Linked DNA regions of Homo sapiens: all the other regions are linked to region 1. Evidence: promoter capture Hi-C in 16 types of primary human blood cells and fetal thymus (Javierre and others, 2016). All regions are on one chromosome and are shown on one strand. Each heading gives the region's core, a stretch centred on a gene start or on the middle of the fragment in contact. The rest is flanking DNA. Distances are from core to core; before and after follow the strand shown. Region 1 holds the start of FDX1 (ferredoxin 1). Region 2 has its middle 41 kb from the start of POU2AF1. Region 3 has its middle 1.9 kb from the start of POU2AF1. Region 4 overlaps POU2AF2 (POU class 2 homeobox associating factor 2). Region 5 overlaps POU2AF2 (POU class 2 homeobox associating factor 2). Region 6 has its middle 14 kb from the start of POU2AF2.

Region 1 (2,613 bases), core at 66-2,565:
GGTCTTACTAAAAACAAAAGTTAGCTGTTCTTTTACAACCTCCTCTTCAAGATTACTTGTCAGGGTTTGCTGTGCCCTTCGCAGCTTGAAAGACTTTCTCTTCATCCAACGATTTGAGGCAATTAGGAGCCACTGCCTTCTCTCTGCCATTGGGTTCCAGAAAGCACCATACATTGTCCGCAGATACTTTACTCATGCTTACACTTTCTTGTTCTGAATCTTCAAAAATTAGTGGCGTGTGGTGGCACACGCCTGTAGTCCTAGCTACTCGGGAGGCTGAGGCAGGAGAATCACTTGAACCTGGGAGGCGGAGGTTGCAGTGAGCCGAGATTTCGCCACTGCACTACAGCCTGGGCAGAATAGAGAGACCCCATGTCAAAAAAAGAAAAAAAAAGTATCTGATTGTGTTTAGCATATCTGCAATATCCCCTTGACTTTGGCCTTTAGCCTCTTTATGAGTACCCTGATGGAGGAAGGCCCAGGAAGCGGTAGCCTTCCTGGTTTGTGACGCACGGTGTGCATTGCGTATTAGATTAACATCAGAATGGCCCTGAAGGCTGGAACATCTTATCTGTGTTTGAGAGTTATGGAAACTCTGATCCTCCATGAGAATAATTTTTCCAAGGTCTCAGATCTCTAAAGCAGTAGATCTTGGATCTGAACATTGCTATTTCTGACCTTAAAGCCCATGCATTTCCCACAACATATGAACCATGATAAGGTGTATTTTAAAGTTCATCTTTTCTGTTTTTTGTGAAAGTCTTTTAGAGATCTCAGCTCATCACAAAGTTTCCGGTTCAGTCTCGTGGGTTTCATGTACTCAGCCAGCATTTACTTGCCAGTCAAGGTCTAGGATGGCTACCTGTCCTCTGCAGGAGCCCCAAGCCTATTCATTAATTTCATTTACAATTTTATAGTCATAATTATTTCTTTGTATAATAGCATTCTGAGATTTTCCAAAATTTCCCACTGTTTTTGTTTTACAGTGGGCAGAATTCACTTTGCTCTAACTTGACTCCAAGATGACACAATTTCCCAGTTTTTTTTTTAACGGCTAGGGGATGGGGGTATGCGGAACAGAACACAGTGGTCTAGCTAACCGATTTCCGCTAGACGTCCAGCTATCTTTCAAAATATTTTGTTTCTGCACGGCAACTTCAGCCGCTAAAAAAGCATCCAGCTTACAACGGAACCTGGAGGGTTGGTAAAGGCCCCCTGCGCTGGCCCCGCCCCATGGGACCGGGCGGCGTGGGCGTGAGAGGCGGGGCGGGGCCGCGCTCTGCTTGCCAATGTCTTTATAGGTCACCCGGAAGGCACGCGGAACCTCGGCGCGGTGCTTCCAGCAGGGTCTCTCCGCCACTCCAGCCCCGCGCCCCTCGCCGCGGCCCTCGGGCGTCTGCGCCGCAGCTGCCGCCCCCGCCTCTTTGGAGTCTCTCGCGGCCTCAAAGCGCGGCCTGCGTCGCTTCCGGCAGTTCCCGACCGCGGGCGATGGCTGCCGCTGGGGGCGCCCGGCTGCTGCGCGCCGCTTCTGCTGTCCTCGGCGGCCCGGCCGGCCGGTGGCTGCACCACGCTGGGTCCCGCGCTGGATCCAGCGGCCTGCTGAGGAACCGGGGGCCGGGCGGGAGCGCGGAGGCGAGCCGGTCGCTGAGCGTGTCGGCGCGGGCCCGGAGCAGGTAGGGCGCCGTGCGGGCGCGATCGCCGGCGCGGGCCGGGGTCCCCGGTGGGTGGCGCCTGGCTCTCTGGGCCGAGTCTCTGGTTCCAGTGCCTTCTGCGCGCCGGGCCCACACCCCGGAGGCCTGCCTCTCGCCCCCCTCTTCTGGGGTGCTCTCGCGGCTCCGTCTCGCTGCTCGGTGGCGTCGCTGCCTCCCTTCCGTCGCACCGCAGAGTTCCTTTCCGCATCACCCACTCCCGGCGGGAATCGGGGACCCTGGACGCCCAGCTCCCTTTCCCAGCGCTTCCCGTGCCCTGAGGAAAGCCGGGACTTTGCTGCTGCTTGTTCTCCGTGTGATTTGTCTGGGATCTGACCTTTGCTCTGCCCGAAACTGGCAGTGACCTTCGCGACAGGCTTCCCTCCTGCTGTCCTGGCCTGACACACCTGCCAGCTGTTTTTTTCAGGGCCTTGCCCTGCTTTGAGAGGACACCCAGGTCCCAGGTCTTTGTCAGGGGGTGTCCAGGTAGAATACACCCAGCCCATACCCTCTGCTGCCCTGTAGGCCCTTTGCTAGTTGCTCAAGTGTTGAAAGCCCCTGCGTTGAAGTAATCTGCCGGGACTTGAAACTTGGCTTTGGCACTGATTGTCTGACGTGCCTAACTTGGTCAGTCCTTAGGAACCCAGTTTCTCCATTTGCAAGTTGGATATAATAACAGTGTAGACCTCCTATGGTTAATTGAAGAATCAATGAGTTAATACAGCGATACAGGTAGTCTTGTGCCTAGCACGTAATGAGGGCTCAGTAGATGCCACTTGGTAGCAGCAGCAGCAGCAGCAGCAGCAGCAGCAGCAGCTTCTTAGGTTCACAATGTTAAGAGAGTTTTGTATTAAATATTGAAAGAAATGTGACAATTTATCCCAAATGTGTTGAAGTTTTAGGTTCTTGGGCATATTTGTTTTTC
Region 2 (2,613 bases), core at 83-2,582, 990 kb after region 1:
GGGAAAACCGGAAGCATCTAAGCCACCGTTCTCTTGGCCCTTCTGCAAACCCTCTCTGCCACGTCTGCAGGAGTTTGTTTTAGTTCACTAGGGCTGCCAAAACAAAGTACTGACTGGATGGCTTAAAGAACAGAAATTTACTTCCTCACCATTGTGGAGACTGCAAGTCCAAGGTCAAGGTGTCAGCGGGGTTGTTTCTTCTGGGAGCTCCTCTCCTTGGCTTCCAGATGGCCGCCTTCTCTCTTTGTCTTCATATGGTCTTCCCTCTATACCTATCTGTGTCCTAATCTCTTCTCATAAGGACACCAGTCATATTGGATTAGGGCCTACTCATATGACCTCATTTTACCTAAATAACCTCCTTAAAGACCTTATCTCCAAATAGAGTCATATCCTGAGGTACTGGGGATTAGGAAGTCAACCTATAAACTTGGAGGAGAAGAAGGAGGCTGCACAATTCAGCCCATGACAGAAGTTAACACTGATGCTCAGAGAAGTGCCAGTGAGTCCCTGATAAAAGCTACAGCCAATCAGTTCAGGAACCAAGAATTAGGCCTGTAACTGCCTTCCTTCTTGGCTGACTGACAACCCTAGAGATACAAAGCTTCATCCAGCACTGGTAACCGAACTTAACTCTATTTTGCCACCACCACTTCCTGTACGTGCCCCTCGCCCCTTGGCCTCCCCACAGCACTGGTGCTACCTGAGGTGTCTGTATTTGAGCCAAAGGCAAGAGAAGGTGTCAATACGGAAGAGAGAAAGAAACATGTCTCCCTTGGGACTAGGGTGGGAAATGACAAGGATGGAGGCAACTTCCAAGGAGAACCACTGGCTCGCTTCCCAAGCTCATAAGCAGAACATAGAAAAAAGGTCCAAATGCCCTGGCTAGATGGAAGAGAGCCAAGCCACCAGCAAGTACCAGCAGCGGGTCTCTGACTGCCAGCCAAGGCCATGGCGCTGCCAGACAGGAACTGACATGGAGCAGAGAGAGAGGCCTGGCAGCGGGATGGCTTCACCCTCCACACAGCTTTTGCTGTTGGCTTCTGCAGGGTCATGAGTCCTCAGCAGCCTCAGTTCCCAGAGTCACTCTTCACTATTGGGTGCCAGTTGGCTAAGTGCCATATTGGAAAAAGAGTACGGGATGTGAGCTTCTAGATGAACCAACCCATTATAATCAGACTTGGCTTAGTTTGGCCACACATTGCCAAGACAGGAGGGAGGTGTTGCTGACTCAGCACCAGGCACCCAAGGACAGGCAGGTCCAGAAGTGGCTTGAGGTAAAGGAATCTACAATGGACAACTGTAGTGTCCTAGAGATGCCTAGGGTCCAGCCATTAAGCTGTAGTCCAGTTCTCTCGGCAAAGGAAAGTTCACAGTCTATCTTCTCAGCTGCCCCTGAATCCAAGTCTCAAGGTGCAAAGTCCTGGAGGACTTGCAGACACCAGCTGCTGGCTTGTCCAGGAGATATTAAAGTTTCCTTTAAAATCATCCCAGCAGTCCAGATGACCTGCTCTTCAACCTCATCCTGAAATTGCATCCACAGCAGGGTAGACCAATCTGAGCAGCCAGCTCTGGAAGTGAAACTGAGGAGATCATAGCCAACAATCCTCCTTGGACCAGGTGGCATTCTGGGCTTTGCCTGGAGAAAGCCACATTTTTTACACAAAGACCAAAAGACCAAGGATCAGGAGGAAGAAGGCAGTGGGCATGGTAGGGTGTGGACTCTGCCTTAGCAGAGACTCTGGGGGAGATAAAACAGGGGGAGATGAGACCATGATCATCTCACAAGAGTTAAGCCTCAAAAGTCACAGGAGCTGTATGTAGAGCTACTTTGCCCACCTGTGGTTCTCCCCTGTAATGGGTAAGAACAAGAAACAGCATTCAACAGTTTGAGACACAGTTTGTCTAGTAGAATGCCAGAGGGATTGCAGTAGCAACCTGGTGACCCCGTTCATTCATGCATTCATTCAACACATTTTTATTGAGCACCTAATTTGTGCCAAGCATTATGCTGAGTGGTTGACAGGATAAAAAAATAAACTAACAGGCCTTACCCTCATGAAGCTTACATTCTAGCAGAGAAAAATGAATCAATTATACAATTCAAAACACTAATAATTGTAATAAGTGCTACCAAGGACTTTGAGAGTACATGATGGAACACAATCTTGGAGGTCCCAGAAGGCTCCTTTGGGAAAGGGACACCTAGGCTAGTCCCTAAAAGGTGAGAGTAAATTACCTAGAAAAAAGGATGGGATAGGGATGGGAAAGAACATGCCAGGAAAAAGGAGTAACTTATGCAAAGGCCTTAAGGCTGGAGAGAGCGTGACAGAATCAAGGAACCAAGGTCCCAAGTGGCTGGAGTCCAGAGATTGGTGTGCAATGGATCTCAAGAGCCTAGCTCTCAGAGAGGGCACCTCATATAGGGCCTCGTAGACTATCTAAAGGGTTTTTATCTCTAAGAGCAGCCAGAGCCATAGAAGGGCTTGGGGGAGGATGAGATGGCATAATTAGCTATGCTGACCTGAGCATTCAGCCCTCCCCTTTACCTAATGTTGCCTCCATACAAAGGAGGAGACCTGGCTTTGTGTCTGAGTTCATCATGATCTGAAA
Region 3 (2,613 bases), core at 75-2,574, 950 kb after region 1:
GGCTATGCCCACGGAAAAAGAGGCCAACCCTCAAGGAAGGAAGGAGAACATGCCCGTGCTCTTTGACTGGATCTGGGCTTGTAGGCACAAGATGAACAGAGCCTCTTTGCGAGTGCCCACCCACTGATAACAGGAAGCTTCTTTAAGTAAGTCATGGGCTCACCATCTGGAAGTGTAGATGGTGTTGGCTACCGGTTCCTTCACAGTTTGGAAGCCTTCTGCCACTGCATATCTGAGGTCCACATGCTCAGGCTCCAGGGACTCAGTCAGTTTGGGGTCAAGACCCCTTGGCACACCCCCTAGAGCAGGTGTGGGGCCTTGCTGCTCTGCCATCCATACTGCCTCAGAGCCATCTTGCACCACCTAGACCTGATCATGCTATCCCCTAGCCTACAAAGCATTCACCTTCTCCCTTCAGCCACAGAGCTGGAGGCCTAGAAGGCCTCCCACAATCGAGCCGTTGCCTTCCTTTCCAGCCTCACCACCAACTGCCCTCCTACCACTGGTCCCAGTGCCCTCTAAGCACCACCAAACACCCATGCAATTCCCTGCCTTTGACCTTGCCGTCCTCTCTTGCCGGAAGGACAAACCCCCAGCCCAGAGAATACTTGTTCGTCTTCTCAGATCTTAGAGCACTTTGTTCATTATGTGATGGTGAATTGTCACATGACTCTGACAGTTTCTCAAGGAGGTTTCATCTTTGCCTCTCCAGTGCCCCACACAAGACCTGGAGCATAGTGACCCCCAATAAAAATTCATCTGATAAAGTTATGAATTACTGTCTCTAATCGGTTGCTGATTTGAGGGCAGGTCTTGAGGAGAAATGCTGTCAACATTTTATAAATGATTCACTTAAAAGCCAGAGAAGGCTGTCTCCTGGCTGCCTATAAGCCCTCCCCGCAAAGCCTCTGAAGTTCAGGACAGTGGAGGCCCCCATGCTGTGGTGGCTGGCAGCCCACACCCTGGCCTGGCAGGGGGCAGCATCTCAAGGCCTTGGGCTGCGCCAAGGAGTTTCCATGAGAAACAGAGGCACATCCCTCAGGCCTGCCTCAGTCACAGGAGACGTGGGTTCCCATGAAGGCTCTGACACTCACTCACTGTGTCCCCTTCAACAAGTCACATAACTCTTCTAGCCTCAGTTTCCTCATCTATAAAATGAAGAACCAGTTCTGTGAGTGTCTCACAGGTTCGTAGGAGGATATGTGGCCTCGCTGGTCCTCTCTCCCACGGGTCTGTCTTTTGTCTCTTTTGGTCATGTCTTATTCTCTCCAAGTCCGTGAAATTCAGAACTTTTTCTTATTCATCTCAGTTTCTCCCCACAGGCCTAGCATGATGATTTCCACAAAGTAATAATATAACCACTTACTGTGCAAGAGGCTCCATGTTAAGCCTTAAATACATTACCTAATCTAGTCACCACAACAACGCTGCAAGGAAACGTCTACCTGTATTGTTCAGAGAAACAAACAAATGCTTAGGGAATTTCATCTGTCCAATGTCACCAAGCTATCAGGTTATAGGCTGGTGCCAGACCCAAGTTCATCTGACTAGAGCCAGAGCTCTAAATCATTAAAATAAAAGATATTTATTAAGTTGAAAGCAGTAAATGCCAAGTGTCAGCCATGTTTGTTAGTAGTAATATAGGATCATTATTATTAAAACCTGAAGCAGATCAACAGAAGCTATATCCCCCGGAATAAATTTCTGTCCTCTGGAAAGAGGGAAGGAAAAGGTGAGACCCAGAGCTACTCTGACAAATCAGATCTTGTACAGTGGCAGAAAAACAAAATGTCAGTGGGCAAGCCCACCATCATGGCCAGCGATAAACCCATCACCTCTTATGGCCTCACAGCTCATGAGGCAGATTCCAGCTCATTTCTTCCAGCAAATACCCTGCATATCAGTGACCACATACAGGCAGATGCTTTGGAATCAAGACTTGATCGAAACAGCAAATATTTTCCAGGAAAACATTTTCTGTGACTTAGAATCAAAAGTCAAACTGCATGGCATAGTTCAAAAGAGGCGACTATGTTTATGCAATGTCTCAAGAAGTGGAAGAAAAGAAGAAAAAATCTGTGAACATGGTCCAGATGACTCCAAATACAGGTGTGCTCACATTTTTAAAGAATCTGATATACAAACATCAAAACTTCTAAAATAATTTATTAAAGCGCACTGATTCATATTGTGAAATAAATTTTAGCTTTGCAAAAAGATTCACCATCGACTTCATTTCTTCCATCATTTAATAAATATTTACAGAGTGCTTATTACATGTCATTACCTCTGCCAAGTCTTAATCTTTTCTTTTCATTTAGCCTTTAATCATCTTCATTCTCATCATTTTTGATTTATGAAAAGCCCCTATCTTATTTTGCTCAGTAATTTATTTATTCATTCATCTACTTTCCCCCTCATTTTCCATGTCTATTCTTTTTCCTGTCCCCTCATACCCCCATCACCCACCCACCATTCCAATCAGGGCAACTCTTTTCAGTGGTTGATGCTGAAGCTTTTATTTGTAGACATTTGTGCCTGTTCTTATAAGATCTGTATTGTTTGGCATGTATAGATTTTTAATTTATGTAGGTGATGTTATATTACACATTT
Region 4 (2,613 bases), core at 64-2,563, 850 kb after region 1:
TTCCACATATTTTTCTTACGTCTATTATGAACTACACCCTGTTCTAGGCACTGAGGGCACATCACAGTCAAGGTCCCTACAGTTGGTGGAGCTTCTTCCTCCACATGGATTCAGACAGTAAACATTGAAGTGGCCCTTCAGTGCTGAAGCCAAACACTAAGTGCATGTATGCACATACACACATACAGTAGGCGCCCCTTAGCCATGGTTTCCCTTTCTGAGGTTTCAGCTACTCATGGTTAACTGCAGTCTGAACATACTAAATGCGAAATTCCAGAAATAAACAATTTCTAGATCTTAAATGGCATGCCTTTCTCAGTGGTGTGATGAAATTTCATTCAGTCCCACTCTGTGCTGCCCAGGACTTGAATCTTACCTTTGTCCAGCCAATCCACACTGTCTACACCACCTGCCCGTTAGTGTCTCAGTAGCCGACTCAGTGATTGGATCACCTGTCTCTGTATGGCAGTGCTTGTGTTCAAGTCACCCTTATTGTATTTCACAATGGCCCGAAAGCACAAGAGTAGTGACACTGGCAATTTAGATATGCCAAAGAGAAGCCGGAATGTGCTTCCTTTAAATGAAAAAGTAAACGTTCTCAACTTAATAAGGAAAGAAAAAAAATGTATGCTGAGGTCAGACATTGGTATGGTAAGAACAAATCTTTTGTCTGTGAAATTGTGAAGAAGGCGAAAGAAATTCATGCGAGTTTTGCTGTTGCACCTCGAACTGCAAAACTGTGGCCACAATGCATGATAAATTCTTAGCTAAGATGGAAAAGGCATTGAGTTTGTGGGTGGAGGACATGATGGCAATCAGGTGTGGTGCTATCCTCAGTTTTAGGAACCCACTGGGGAGTCTTGGAACATATCCCTCGTGGGTAAGGGGAGGCTACTGGATATGCGTATATATAGTCACTTAATATATATTGGATGAGGGAATGTTAACTGGAACAGTAGAAGATGAAGGATAAATTACTACATTTCATCCAGCCAGTGCTTTCTGGCATGTTTATCAAAATGTAAAAGTGTGGTTGCTCTTTGTCCCTTGTAAAACTTTGTTCTATGGTACTTGAATTCTTATTCTCAGTTGACCTGAGGGTCAACCCAACTCCCCAGATAATACTTCTGAATATCATAAAACCAAGCTTATAAGGTGTATTCCTAATTTTTATTAAATTCAAACTTACAACTAAAGAAAACACTTGAATTCTGTTTACCTTCCAGGGCAGCGTCAGTTCCTCTCAGTCTCCATTTGTGCAGATGCCAGGTGAGTACTTTAATTCAATAAGCAATTATTCCCTTTTGAATTTAAATCAAGCATCTGGGCTTCCATTCTTTCATAACGACCTTACAACACTTCCAAAACTCTGCTCCTTTAAAATAGTTTTGTCTAAAATACAAAATCAGCGAAGGACAGAACTCATGCAGTAATTTCTGAATTTAAAATTCATTTTGTCTTGAAAGCAGCCCTTTTATCCCAAGCTTTTGGGGCAAAGGCAATATAAATTATGCCCTTGATACAGTTTTAAATTGTCTAAAGTTCTGACACCATGATCTGATAGATGAGGCATCTGCTTTCAAACAGAAAGGGGAAAGCCGTCTGCGAGCAGAGGGAGTCAGGCATTTGGTTCAGTATTTTGAATTCATTTCAATGCCTATGTCTCATTAAATACTCCTGTGGGGATGTAAAAGGGGAATTCCTAATAATACTGTTGGACATTCTTGTATAAACACACACCACACAGGCAAAGACAATCTCATTTAGTTCAACTCAGACGCGGCACATTCCCTAATAGTTTTATCACCTTCAGAGCTGGATAAGGGAAAGGAATAAGAGCAATCGAGGATCCCGAATATTTAAATGTCTGTATGTTGTTTCCCAATCATATATAGTGCCATTGAAATTTGGTGGCATCTCCTGCCTTCTACAGAAAAAAAAAAGAAAAATTTCCATAGCTTCTCTTTATCTAGAAATTATCCTTTCTCTTTGTACAGAGAAAATCCATGCTAAGAGAGCAGAGGCTTTTTTCTTCGTGGTTGTTTTGATTTGGAAATTGGGAGTATAGATGAGAGCCTGGAAACCTTGTTTTCATATTCTCAACCTTAACCGCTCTCATAAATATAATTTCATTGTATGAAACAGAACCTTATTTATTTATATTAAGGTTCAGCTGCACAGATTTTTTCCCAAGGAAGTATGCTTATAATGAAAACCCTAACTTCAGCTTTCAAATGCATGAGCAGGTTAGAAGTTATAGAATGTAAGATGAAAGTGAAGTGAGTGGAGTCGTGCCACAGGTTTTGATGGGGAATTTTGATTTCTTCTTCTGGATGAATAAATTCACATGCCATTCTTGAACACAATGTTATACTACTAGGTTTAAAGAAAATGTATAAGGCATGAGATCTGCCCCCTTGGGCTCGCAGGTTGACTGGAAAGATCATTGTGACTCAGGTGAAAGAGGAATGAGCATAATATAAAGTGCCACATCCTGTGGAACGGGCTGGAATTCTGTGTCTATAGAATCAGAAGCTCAGAAGTGGTCTGCTGCTGTGGTTGGGGTAAGGTAAGGAAGACAGGCACTTATATCTTCTCCCCAGTTCAGCCTTT
Region 5 (2,613 bases), core at 68-2,567, 820 kb after region 1:
CGTTTTCAAAGGATCATCCTGTCTACTGTGTTGAAACTAGACTAGGGCAGGGTGGATGTGGAAGCAGGAAAAACAGTTGGAAGGCTGCCACAGTAATCTACATTACTGTAGAAATTGCCCTGGATGGAGCCTGGATATTATCAGAAGAGTAAAGAAAAGTCAGCAGACTCTGGATGTATTTTGTAGGTAGCACCATCAGGAATTGCTAAAGAATAGGCTGTGAAAGATGAGACAGAGGAGCCTAGAATGACTCTACAGCTTCAGGACTCAGTCACCACAAAGACAGGCTGCCATCAACTGAGATAGGAAAAGTTTCAGATAAAACAAATGTGGAAAGGAAGAATGGAGTTCATATTTGGATGTGTGGAGTTTGAGATGTCTACTAGACATCCAATCATAAATGGATATCCAAGACTGAAGTCCACGTCTGGGCTGGAGATACCCATTTGAAACTCGATTACATCTATATGGCATTTAAATCTAGTATCTCCAATTGTACTCATTCCTTACCACTGCACACATCTTTTCTGCTTCCTGTCTCTTTGTTCTTGCTCACAGATGCCTGCTGTCTACAAGGTCATTCTCCTTCCTCCTAACCTGTCCACATGCTTCTCATTCCAGCTTAAGTCCCATCCCTTCCCACAAAACTTTCATCAACAATCCAAAGTGTACTCTTCCCCCTCCCCTGCTCTTTCACATGTGAATGTCTGATTTCTCTCACTAAAATAAGATCTCTTTGAGGACATCTGCTATATGTTCTAAAGTTATTTTGCATCCCCTGTGGCATATAGCCCCGTGCTTTGCACTAAGTCAGTGCCAACTGGTACATAAGACTGATTGTTTTATGACAAAACTTCAGAAGTTTTGATCTGGATATTTGCCATCTCATGAACTTTATTCCTCTATTAATCACCATGTGGTTATTTGTTAAACTTATTTAGAATAGGTGTATTTCCCCTAGGCTTTTTGGCATACACATAAAGTATAGATTGCTAATTCAGATAAAAATCATCAATTAAAAAGCACTTTAAAAAGCAAAGTAGAGACAGTCTGCAAATATACAAAGGATCCAGCCTGGACCTCCTCAATTCCCAGGCCCTCCTCCTTCCCAGAGTTGTCTAAGTCCACATCGACCTCAGTCAGTCAGATACTCCCCCTCTTGCTCAGCCAGGACTGCGTAGATTAGAGTTGACCACCCCACCTCCACAGGAACCTTCTAAAGGCCTTACTCATATGTATATCTGTGGTTCTCCAACGTCAGAGAGCATCAGAATCACCTGGAAGGCTAGGCCCCACCCTAGGGTTTCTGATTCGGTACATTTGGAGTAGGGTCGGCGAATTTGCATTTCTAGCAAGTTCCTAGACAATGCTGATGCTGCTGGTCCAGGGATCACATTTGAGAATCACCGACGTATATTCTTTGACTTGTCTGTCTGGCTTTGACCCCTGCCTGGTTCTGCCCAGTTTTGAATTGCTCTCCTATGCCAGCCTGCTTGATGTGCACTAGAGCGGTCGTAGTAACTGGCCATACCACCACCCCGCCCACACCCTGACTTTCTGTATTTCAGTCTCAGAAGTTGAGGGTCAATTTGTGCCCTTGACCTTAATTTCTTTCTGCCTTTTCAAGACCTCTTTCCATCATTCTGTCCCTCTCTTCTAAGCCATTAGTCTTCCCTCTGTCCTCTTCAAATATTTTCAACTCTCTCCCACTCATAAATGCATAAATAGATATAAGAACATAAGCAAACCTCTCCTTGACACCATAATTCTCTCTAATTATCACTCAATCTCTTGTTTCCCTTTCTCATTCAAACTTCAAGAAGAAATAGTCTCCCCTTCCTGTGTCTACCTCCTCCATTGACATTATTGTCTGGCTTCCAGCCACCCCGCACTTCTGAGTTATTCTTGGTAAGCTCAATGCCAACCACTGAATTGAAAGTAAGAGATGTTTTTCTGTCTTTATCTTCCTGAACTACTCTGTTGCCTCTGATTTTTTTTAATTTCTTTCTTGAAATCTCTTCCCCAGAATTCTAGGATGCTTTATTCCCCTGGTTTTTCCTGTTTCTTCTCCAATTAGTCTTCCCTTATCTTCTTCATAGGGTTCTCCTCTCCTCCTCTGACAACCATTCAAATGTCACTGTTCCCCAGGCTTCCATCTTTAATCATTTAGTCCACAGCTTCCAAACCTGTGTGTCAGAAATCAGTGTTATAGGCATTCCAAAGATACTGATCCTCTTAGCTCTTGGAAGTAGCCTGACCTGTTTACCCCAGTATGCCAGGTGCTCATTATTCTTTTCTATGTGTGCCACCATGTGACTTTATCTTTCAATCACTCCCCCAAGGGATTTCATCCTCTTTCTTGGTTTCATTACCATCCACATCACGATGGTTCTGAAACTTATGTACTGAGAGCAATTCCATGGTGGAAACTTGAGATTCACCCTTGAATCTTCTTCTCTCTCATGTTTAAATAATGTTCAAACCTGTCTGATCCTTGCCCTCCCATCCACCACTACTCAGTCCCCATCAGCTCTTGCCTGGATTATTCTAGAACCCTCCTGACTGATCTTCCCGCAGCTTTGTGATTCTCAAAACCACCTTCCTCTCAGCTGC
Region 6 (2,613 bases), core at 63-2,562, 800 kb after region 1:
GGAAATGGATTCCTTCTCTGCAACCAGTCATGGAAGGAGCATTTCAGGTTGATGTCCGCGATTTTCAGGAAGAAAAGAGTACCTTCCTTCCAGGTCACTGCAGTTCCCAAAAAAATCCTCGCTCTTGCCCAGCTGCCGGGGCAAGCCCTTTTGGCGAGCTGCGGATAGGGTTGAGGCACCACCTAGTGGCTTAAACTGAAAATACTCCCAAATGAATGTCCCTGGTGAAAGGAGGCAAGAGGGGAAATCGTGATCGCCCAAGGCAGGAAAAGGGAATCGAAAGCAAAAACTACTCATGCTCAAAGCCTCCTTTCTGCATTCCCCTCTAGCCTACAGCTACGCATCATTAAAAGATGTCCTTTTTATGCCAGCCTGGTCAAGAACTATTATGTTGTTGTTCGGGTTTTTTTGTTTTTGTTTGTTTGTTTTGTTTTGAGACGGAGTTTCGCTCTTGTTGCCAAGGCTGGAGTGCAATGGCCCGATCTGGGCTCACTGCAACCTCCGCCTCCCGGGTTCAAGCGATTCTCCTGCCTCAGCTTCCCGAGTAGCTGGGACTATAGGCTCGTGCCACCACATCTGACCAATGTTTGTATTTTTAGTAGAGACGGGGTTTCGCCATGTTGGCCAGGGGTCTCGAACTCCCGACCTCAGGTGATCCGCCCACCTCAGCCTTTCAAAGTGCTGAGATTACAGGCGTCAGCCACCGCGCCCGGCCAGGGTCAAGAACTTTTATGTGAGGGAGGTTAGTAGGTCAGGTCAATGGATTTCAACACCCCCAAAAGAACTGTAGTCTAGATTAGGCATGTGAATAAGGAGAGTTAGGGAAAGGAGGGCAGATAGGAGATTCAGTCTGAGGGGAGAGGTTTAAATACAGCTTCTAGAACTCTGAGCAATGTTCATACATTGGTGTCAGGTGCAGATGAGGCTGTCAACTGGTGAAGTCAATTCAGGATGGTTGATAAGAAGGGTTTGTGCCAGGGTCCAACCTCAGGAAACTAGGCAGCTGATTGGGCTCCCTCACTCCACCTCTAGAAACCTGGGGAGATGGGGAAATTTCAAGCATTCAAAGGATCAGACAGGAGAGGTGGAAAACAGACAAAATCAGATTCAGGAAGTGGCCAAGTTTAGTGTCAATTTATGCCAGGTTGAATGATGGTCAGTCTGTACAGATTTGGTCCCAAGTCTGTTCAGGTTAGCAGCGTGCAAGGTGTGATGGAACCCTTGACCCTGCAGGCATTGATATTCTGTTATGTTTTCTAAGAATGATACTCTAGATGTTTCTCTCTGCCCCTGGGCTTTGTTACATCTGCTCTCCAGGCACCCCAGCCCCAGCAACCCCTCAGTATTCAGACCAAGGCAGAGGATGGCATTTCTTCTATTTGACCATCAAGGACTTGCCCTTCGGGCATATCAGGACTGACACTGCAACTCACTCCTTCACCTTTCCTTTAGCCTCTGTAACTCAGCTCCCTAAAGTTTCAGGCTCCCCTGCCCCGTTCTCTCTTTTCTATTTTGACTCACCTTTATTTTCACTTTTTAATGTTGACTCTATCCTTGAGTGAAGTGTGACTTCACCTTTTGTTCTAAGCTGAGCTCAGGGCTCAGTCTCACTAGCGGTCAGATGGTTTTGCTGGTCAGAGTCGTGTCAGGAGCCTCTCCACTTGATCTCAGATTCCTGCCACAGCTGCCAGACTGCTGTTTCTCCTTATTGCAAAAGCTCAGGCCATTGAAGAGCTCCCTAAACTTATGTAGGCTAAAGGGATCTCCCTTGGGTCTTTATTTATTTATCATACAGAACTGATCATCCCCAGGGATCAATGAATGAATGAGCCTTCCTATGTCTATATTAGTGATGTATTTATGTCATAACATACTTAACATAGTCGTGTTTCCAATTGTATATGCCTGAAAGGCTAAACTGCTGTAACAGGCCCTGAGTTACAGTGTCTTCAAAATAAAGTTTATTTATCTCTCATGTTACAGTTCAGAAAAATATCAAGCTATTTTTCTGGACTCAGTCATTCAGTGACTCTTCCATTTTATTTCCTCACCACCTTTCAGAGAATTTCCCTATGTTCAGTAAATATTTGAGCACTTACTATTTAAAAGGTTCTGGGTCACATTTTACAGGAGATAGGTAGTTCAGCCTTCTCAGAACTCAAGATCTAATGGGAACACAAAGCAAGTAAAGGAATAAGTACAGTTGAGAGAAGAAAAACAAATACAATAGAGAGATCTGCAGGGATCAAATGAGGAAGGAATCACCTTCAGTTCAGGGACAACAGGAAAGTCTTCACAGAGGACATGTGTATAAGATAAGATTTGAAGGATAAATAAAATTTTAGTAAACAACAGAAGAAAATGTTACCAGTGGAGAAAACAGTATGAACCAAAGTTTGAGGATTAAAATATATATAGAAATGCTCCTAAATGTCCATCAATGATAAATTGGATAAAGAAAATGTGGTACATTGGTTTCACCGTGTTGGCCAGGATGGTCTCGATCTCTTGGCCTCACGGTCCGCCCACCTTGGCCTTCCAAGGTGCTGGGATTGCAGGCATGAGCCACTGTGCCTGGCCTTCATTTTTTCTTTGAGTCAGGATCTCACTCTA

Evidence for each region. Contacts are between HindIII fragments. The CHiCAGO score rates a contact against its expected background, and 5 or more counts as called.
Region 2: a contact is called between a fragment that was not itself captured here and the fragment with the promoter of FDX1 in region 1, in 3 of 17 cell types (total B cells, naive B cells and fetal thymus). The highest score is 8.5, in total B cells.
Region 3: a contact is called between a fragment that was not itself captured here and the fragment with the promoter of FDX1 in region 1, in 4 of 17 cell types (naive B cells, naive CD8 T cells, activated CD4 T cells and 1 more). The highest score is 5.8, in naive B cells.
Region 4: a contact is called between a fragment that was not itself captured here and the fragment with the promoter of FDX1 in region 1, in 1 of 17 cell types (total B cells). The highest score is 5.5, in total B cells.
Region 5: a contact is called between a fragment that was not itself captured here and the fragment with the promoter of FDX1 in region 1, in 1 of 17 cell types (naive B cells). The highest score is 7.2, in naive B cells.
Region 6: a fragment that was not itself captured here is called in contact with the fragment with the promoter of FDX1 in region 1 in 12 of 17 cell types (total CD4 T cells, naive CD4 T cells, fetal thymus and 9 more); the score reaches 13.8 in total CD4 T cells.

What each region holds. Positions count from the first base shown.
Region 1 is chr11:110,428,633-110,431,245 of GRCh38, forward strand. FDX1 (ferredoxin 1) reads left to right here and starts at 1,316. Exons shown (of 4, transcript NM_004109.5): 1 at 1,316-1,673. The coding sequence starts at 1,489. RefSeq lists a silencer at 1,130-1,779 and an enhancer at 1,850-2,129. The HindIII fragment of the contact is 8,631 bases long and covers 1-2,613 here.
Region 2 is chr11:111,418,764-111,421,376 of GRCh38, forward strand. It overlaps a transcript of BTG4 not described here. Among named protein-coding and RNA genes, the nearest start is that of POU2AF1, 41 kb to the left of the region's middle. The HindIII fragment of the contact is 1,460 bases long and covers 603-2,062 here.
Region 3 is chr11:111,379,910-111,382,522 of GRCh38, forward strand. No RefSeq gene overlaps it. Among named protein-coding and RNA genes, the nearest start is that of POU2AF1, 1.9 kb to the left of the region's middle. RefSeq lists enhancers at 1-82, 303-522. The HindIII fragment of the contact is 2,378 bases long and covers 136-2,513 here.
Region 4 is chr11:111,280,172-111,282,784 of GRCh38, forward strand. It overlaps POU2AF2 (POU class 2 homeobox associating factor 2), which reads left to right. Exons shown (of 5, transcript NM_198498.3): 3 at 1,227-1,269. Among named protein-coding and RNA genes, the nearest start is that of POU2AF3, 17 kb to the right of the region's middle. The HindIII fragment of the contact is 337 bases long and covers 1,146-1,482 here.
Region 5 is chr11:111,251,047-111,253,659 of GRCh38, forward strand. All of the region lies in intron 1 of POU2AF2 (POU class 2 homeobox associating factor 2), which reads left to right. Among named protein-coding and RNA genes, the nearest start is that of POU2AF2, 6.6 kb to the left of the region's middle. The HindIII fragment of the contact is 3,728 bases long and covers 1-2,613 here.
Region 6 is chr11:111,230,393-111,233,005 of GRCh38, forward strand. No RefSeq gene overlaps it. Among named protein-coding and RNA genes, the nearest start is that of POU2AF2, 14 kb to the right of the region's middle. The HindIII fragment of the contact is 5,671 bases long and covers 1-2,613 here.